Regions from separate parts of the Homo sapiens genome. Here region 1 is linked to region 2. Evidence: promoter capture Hi-C in 16 types of primary human blood cells and fetal thymus (Javierre and others, 2016). All regions are on one chromosome and are shown on one strand. Each heading gives the region's core, a stretch centred on a gene start or on the middle of the fragment in contact. The rest is flanking DNA. Distances are from core to core; before and after follow the strand shown. Region 1 holds the start of ABCB10 (ATP binding cassette subfamily B member 10). Region 2 overlaps PARP1 (poly(ADP-ribose) polymerase 1).

The links. The method cuts DNA at HindIII sites, captures the fragments that hold promoters and counts their contacts. A CHiCAGO score of 5 or more calls a contact.
Region 1: the fragment with the promoter of ABCB10 here is called in contact with a fragment that was not itself captured in region 2 in 1 of 17 cell types (non-activated CD4 T cells); the score reaches 5.5 in non-activated CD4 T cells.

The regions. Positions count from the first base shown.
Region 1 is chr1:229,557,240-229,560,641 of GRCh38, reverse strand. ABCB10 (ATP binding cassette subfamily B member 10) reads left to right here and starts at 1,935. Exons shown (of 13, transcript NM_012089.3): 1 at 1,935-2,506. The coding sequence starts at 1,990. RefSeq lists an enhancer at 1,156-1,345 and silencers at 1,516-2,215, 2,276-2,725. The HindIII fragment of the contact is 4,467 bases long and covers 1-3,402 here.
Region 2 is chr1:226,404,458-226,407,973 of GRCh38, reverse strand. It overlaps PARP1 (poly(ADP-ribose) polymerase 1), which reads left to right. Exons shown (of 23, transcript NM_001618.4): 1 at 1-164. The coding sequence starts at 45. Among named protein-coding and RNA genes, the nearest start is that of PARP1, 1.9 kb to the left of the region's middle. RefSeq lists a silencer at 207-306 and an enhancer at 1,257-1,316. The HindIII fragment of the contact is 437 bases long and covers 1,032-1,468 here.

The DNA.
Region 1 (3,402 bases), core at 686-3,185, 3.2 Mb before region 2:
GAATGTTGGGATTACAGGTGTGAGCCACCGCCTGGCCGCTACCTCCTCTTTTTTTTTCTTTTCTTTTTTTTTTTTGAGACGGAGTCTTGCTCTGTCTCCCAGGCTGGAGTGCGGTGTGGCACCATCTCAGCTCACTGCAACCTCCGCCTCCCGGGTTCAAGCAATTCTCCTGCCTCAGCCTCCTGCGTAGCTGGGATTACAGGCACGCTCCACCACACCTGGCTAATTTTTGTATTTTTAGTAGGGACGGGGTTTCACCACGTCGGTCAGGCTGGTCTCGAACTCCTGACCTCGTGATTCGCCCGCCTCAGCCTCCCAAAATGTTGGGATTACAGGTGTGAGCCACCGCGCCCGGCCGCTACCTCCTTTTTGAGCCCAACTAAAGAAACATCAAGGATTGATACCCTCCCAGTTGAAGAGAAAGTGACAACTTTAACCCAAATCTCACCTTCCTCTTACTTTCTCTTTCCCATTTTCCAGCTGCCAAACTAAGGGCAGCTGCTGTCAGTTTTTGTAAATAAAGTTTCCAGGGCTGGGATTAGAGCGAGAGAAGAGAGGCAGGATTGTGAAAGGTCAGGAGTGGATACTCAATCAAAATTTTTTATATTTTGTTCATTACGGATTTTTTAAATTAATTTTGATTTTTAAAAATATTGCACTAAAATGTTTATGTTGATTATTGAGGTTTTTTTATTTTGTGAACCCATAAAATTTGCAACTGACAGTACCCTGTCCAGGTCCAGTAAAAATACCTAGGAGTCTACAAAAATCTACCCACGACTCACTGGACCTCAGGTACATATCCCCCCCCGCCCCCATGAAGTCTCCATAAAGTGTCCCAGTGAGTTTTAATGTTCTCTCCTGTCTTTCCATGCACGTGTATTAAGATGCATTGCCTTCTGATTAGTGTTTTCCACTTCGAACAGCGGGAATGCCTCGACCACGCCTGTCTTCAAATTTCTGCTCTAGTTAAGAAACGATCTCAGGCCGGGCACGGTGGCTCACGCCTGCAATCCCAGCACTTTGGGAGGCTGACGCGGGCGGATCACCTGAGGTCAGGAGTTCGAAAAGAGCCTGACCAACATGGTAAAACCCCGTCTCTACTAAAAATACAAAATCAGCCGGGTGTGGTGGCGTATGCCTGTAATCCCAGCTACTTGGGAGGCTGAGAAGGGAGAATCACTTGAACCTGGGAGGCAGAGGTTGCAGTGAGCCGAGATCGTCTCAAGAAAAAAAAAAAAAAGAAAAAAAAGAAACGATCTCTTCCCTTCTCAAAGTTATATACATTTCACTATTCGCCAACCACCTCCTCCACGCCGTCCAGAGCTGAGCTGACACGCAGCGAAGTCCTCTCAGTGGTCCCTCCGCACCTCAGCCCTGTGCTTGGCAGCGAGACGAGTGACAGGGCCGCCCCAGCATGGGTCTCCCGGGCCGCGGACCCGCCCCACGCCGTATCCAGCACGCTGTCCTCCCGCCCCATCTTTGTGCCGGCCATCGTGTGGTCGCGTCTGCGCGCTCCGCCCGGTCTGCCGGCGTGAGAAAGAGCTCGTGTCGTTCCCAAGTTCAGACCAGAGGGGACGGCGAAGCGCGAAAAAGTTCCCTGCGCCCAGTACGCAGGCGCAGCCGTGCTCCTGGGCTTCCCGGGCCTCGTCCCAGCTGGCGCGCCCGGCGCTCCTCCGCCAGCGGGCAGTTGGGGGCGCTGCAGGGAGGGCACCCGAGCGGGTTGGGGGCGCTCGGAAGGGTGGCTTGCAAGGTCCGGGTAGCTGCAGTCCCCGGAGTGGGGCGGAGAGGCGCGGCACCGCGCGGACGAGGATGGGGCGGGGGCGGGCGCAGCCCGAGGGTGCAGGCACGATAAGGCGGGTGACAGCCAGCGGGGAGGGGCGGGCGCCACCGCGTCCACGCCCTTTGCTCGGGGCCGGGCCGGGAGGGTCCTCGGGCTTTGCGCGCGCCTGGCCGGCGGGCTGAGGCGTACGGGTCGCACGCAGCGCCATGCGAGGCCCCCCTGCCTGGCCGCTGCGGCTGCTCGAGCCACCGAGCCCTGCCGAGCCAGGTCGGCTCCTGCCGGTAGCCTGCGTGTGGGCCGCGGCCAGCCGCGTTCCCGGGTCCCTATCGCCGTTCACTGGCCTGAGGCCGGCGCGGCTATGGGGCGCGGGGCCCGCGCTGCTCTGGGGCGTTGGAGCCGCGCGCCGCTGGAGGAGCGGCTGCCGGGGCGGGGGTCCGGGCGCCTCGCGGGGCGTCCTGGGCCTCGCGCGGCTCCTGGGGCTGTGGGCTCGCGGCCCCGGCAGCTGCAGGTGCGGGGCTTTTGCCGGGCCAGGCGCTCCTCGGCTCCCGCGCGCCCGGTTCCCGGGCGGTCCCGCAGCCGCTGCCTGGGCAGGGGACGAGGCCTGGCGGCGCGGGCCGGCGGCGCCTCCCGGGGACAAGGGGCGGCTGCGCCCCGCAGCGGCCGGACTCCCGGAGGCCCGGAAGCTCCTGGGGCTGGCGTACCCTGAGCGCCGGAGGCTGGCAGGTAGGGTCCTCCCCGGCCACTTCCCTCCGCCGGGCCTCTCCTTCTCCACACGCGGGGTCCCGGGGCGCCGAGAGGGACACGGCCGGGCCGCAGAGCGCGTGTCACCGCCGCCTCTCCTGGGCCACTCCTAACCCCGGAGGAGGGAGGGGATCGCTCACCTCAGAGTAGCGTTGTCAAGATTTCGCCTTAGCTGGGGACTCGTTTGCAGATTTTACACTTGTTTTCTTGTTGACACACGTTATATATGTCATTATTGGAATCTTTGGGTCTGTTCCACCACCAACTTAGTGGGAGCATCTGTTTTGGCTTAGGCAGCAAAATGAGCTGGAGGTTTTTCCTTGGAAAAAAAAATTCTAGCCAAAAATATGCCTATTTTGTTATTAGGCGTTTATACTTTTTTTTTTTAACCAAAAACACATTATTTGCTTCAAGCGAGTCTGTCAAGCAGTCACCAATGCTTTCACAGCGGAAAGCAAAACTTTCAGACTTGTCTCTTGTGCAGGAAGTTACAGCACTGTGTTCAACAGGCCACACCAGTGATCTGTTCAGTAATTGAGTAACTTTTTTAAAAGAAGCCAAAATGAATGTTTTTAGAAACAAAATTTAAATAGGACAGTTTTCTATAGCTCCTCATTTTTTAGCCATAATTGGAGGAGTGTTTAGATGCAAGGGCCTTGTAAGATCTAAAATTTTTTCGATTTCTCTAAATCTTCACTCCTTCTATAAACATCTGTTGAGCCCTCATTCTGGACTGGGCCCTGGGTTTACAGTGGCATGCACAAGGAAACATGGTCCTCACTTCTGCTGGGGCTTCTAGGTTAGTGGGGAGAAGCATCTATGAAATATTCGTATGTATAGAGGTAAACCTGCACCTGTGGGCTGTGGAAGGGGGCCTG
Region 2 (3,516 bases), core at 1-2,500:
TCGTGGCGTCGGGCTTCCGGAGCTTTGGCGGCAGCTAGGGGAGGATGGCGGAGTCTTCGGATAAGCTCTATCGAGTCGAGTACGCCAAGAGCGGGCGCGCCTCTTGCAAGAAATGCAGCGAGAGCATCCCCAAGGACTCGCTCCGGATGGCCATCATGGTGCAGGTGCGGGCCGCTGTGCGGGCGGCGGGGCGGGGACGCGGCGCCCCGGGTTAACTGTGTCCGGGAAGGCTGGGGGAGGGCGGGCCCAGGGAGCGAGCGGGCCCGGGCCCTCGGAGCGGCACTTGGGGCCTATGGGGCCGCGGCCGCCCCTCCTCCCGAGCGGCCCGGCCGACCCTTCCGGAAGGTTTTGCTGATGTTGCAGGAAAAGCCCGGGAAATAAAGTCTGCAGCTGGTGTTGCCTTTCGCTTTGTGAAAACGAGGAGCCTCTTCTCTTCTCCTTTCTGGGTGGCGGTGTTTTATTACTGCCGTTCGCCTCAGGGGTTGGGGGGGAATTGTACATGGTCTCTTTAAGCTAATCTGATTTTGACCTATCTTGTTCTGGAGGGTTTTTGTTCTACATGGATGGTGGCGACTGACATGTGGGTTTTTTTTTTTTTTGTTAAACCTATTTTTGGCAGTCATTTCAACACGTCATTTAAACGCTCACTCTCATTTTTTATTTTAATTAGGCAGAACTATGCAGAAAGGTGTCATTTCTGTACAGTACATTCACTTTGAGCCTAATTTGTGCTTTAAAGTAACATTTTCCCCAAATTTTCCAGATTCACAGACGCGTTCTCTTGGTGCATTTGCAGCTGTCTGGTTTGAGTAAGAGTGGCTCCAGGGGGGTTTCTCATGTGGGCTTTTTGATAGATTGAATCCCCTTCTGAGGTTTCCTGAGCCTTCTGTGAGGTGGTGGGCTTGAAGGCCCCTGTCATTTCCCAGGGGCTCCTGCCTCCAGCTTCCAGTTTGCCGATGTCTACCTTTGTATTAATAATTCTGGTTCTCATCTGCCCTGTTCCTCCTCGCTTCCAACATATTACCCAAGCTTAGTGCTCATGGTCAAGGTAGCTTGATTTTCCTCCCTTCCATGAGCTGTAATGTGTTTTAGGAATGACCAGATATCCCTCAGTGGATTTTCAGTACTTAGTACAAGGGAGGGCGACATTTACCGAGTGGATACCCAAGTGCCAGGTGTACTTCCGTTATCTTATTTCACAATATGCCTGTCATCTTGGTGTCCTCGGGGCATACCTAAGTCAGTACGTGGCACACAGTGCTTATTTGGTAGGCATTTTTTAAGTTCTAAGCACTCTGTTAGGTTTTAAGGACACAGAATCCACCTTTGGGAATTTCCAGTTTGGTTAAACGGGAAATGACTGGTAAACAAACGTTACCGTAAGAGAGGATGGATGCCACCTGATGGAGCTGTGCTCTAGGCATTGTGTGCCTAGGAGTCCGAGATGACCCAGCTAAGGGTGGAAGCTTGATTAGGAGTCGTTAATTCACAGAAGTGGAGCAGAAAGATGAGAATAGGGAAGTAGACAGGGCCTACAATTTGAAGAGCCTTGTTGCCCACTAAGGAACCTAGAACTTACTTTGAATATACAAGGCAGCCTGTTATGAAGTTCTCACTCCTGGTGCAGGAGCTCTTAACCCAGGGTCTGTGGGATGGTAGGTAGAAGGCAAGAGGTCCATGAGTTTAGATAAGAAAAAATTGATATCTCCATCTCCACTAACCTCTAGATAAAATTATTTCCTCTAATCATAAATGTAAGCAGCAAAGCAAAGGCATATTAGCAGTCCCTATTTTTTTTTCACCAGTGATAATTACAGATATTTTCATATCACTTTACAGTTGGAAGTTTTTCAAAATATAATTTACTCTCATTGCTACAAAAATCACAGTTATTAGAGGCTGTACTAGATCTTGTTATTTAATGCTTAAAAGCTCACGGGTTACTGTACCCAAATTACCTTTCAAATGTTTTGATAATTATCTCAGTGTTTCCTTTTCGAGCCTTTTTGTTTGTTTTGTTTTTTGAGATGGGGTCTCACTATGTTGCCCAGGCTGGTCTCAAACTCCTGAGCTCAAGCGATCCATGCACCTCGGCCCCACAAAGTGCTAGGGTTACAGGCATGAGCCACCGTGACTGGCCATTTGCGAGCCTTTTTATTACGCATTTTTAAATGTTATTCTGAGAAAGGGACATCCAGGCGCCTTAACAGGTGGGCAGAGTACCGTGTTCTGGTGGAAAGACAAACAAAACCCAAGTCCAGACTGTGTTGAGGCTAGAACAACACCGCTGTGGAGGAAGTTAGAGGAGGCTTAGCTGTGGGGGAGGCCGGATGGAGGAAACTGAACCTGATCAAGTTTAGCATTCTGGGGCCGGGCTTGGTGGCGCATGCTTGTAATCTCAGCACTTTGGGAGGCTGGGGTGGGCAGATTACTTAAGCTCAGCAGTTTGAGACCAGCCTGGCCAACATGGTGAAACCTGTCTCTACAAAAAAATGCAATGATTAGCGGGTCGTGGTGGTGCGTGCCTGTTAAGTCCCAGCTACTCCGGAGGCTGAAGCTGGAAGATTGCTTGAGCCTGGGAGGTGGAGGTTGCAGTGAGCTGAGATAGTGCCACTGCACTCCAGCCTGGGCGACAGACCCAGACCCAGACCCAGACCCTGTCTGAAAAAAAAAATAGTAATAACAACATTCTGGGCTTTCCTTTGGTATACTTGATAGTGAAAGAAACTCTTTATTATTAAAAGTAACTGTGATTTTTATGTAATGGTGATTAAGGGTGGATTCAGAGTTTTAATTCAGAATTTAAAGTTGGTCTGGTAGACTGAGCTGGTGAAGGCCAAAAAGAAAGAAGCCTTTTCACTTGCTTGAATTTAAATACCTTCTTTTACATTTACATGGGAGTATTGTTCTCTGAGTATCTGATACCTGACACTTTAGCCCTCATGCCTGGGGCATCTTGGGAGGGATGAGCTGGGCCCTCCAGCATTTTGGTGGGAGGAGGATGGCGGTAGACCTTTGAGTTGCTCTGTCCTGGGAGGGTTTGAGCACCCGGAGGCATGCAGTGAGGTCAGTTCATTCTCTCTGTGGCCTAGGTGGACAGGTAGCATGGCCTGTTCTGCACAGAAGGGAACCCAGTTCACCAGCTGCTGGTTGGGTGAGGACCCTGGTATGTTAGGTGCTCAGTTTTTGCTTGGGTGCACAGCCAAAGATTCTGTGCCTTGCCTCAGCTGTGCAGCTAACAAATGGAGTCGATAGTCTTGTGACCTTGGTTTGGTGCCTTTCTGCCACATCATTCTCAGTCCTGAGTTTAGGGCAAAGCATTGCTTTGGTCAGGGGTGCTTCTGCTGAGGCTCTTGTCCTCTAAGCTTGTGCTGTGATTGCACCATTGGGCAGCACCTCCAGGGTGTCCAGCACTGTGCCGGTGGTTGGGGGAGACAGCACCCAGACCAAAGGGCAGCAGGTCTGGGGCCCCTGGCAGAGCCAGGAAGAAGTGCCATAGCCATTACCTGTGCTCTT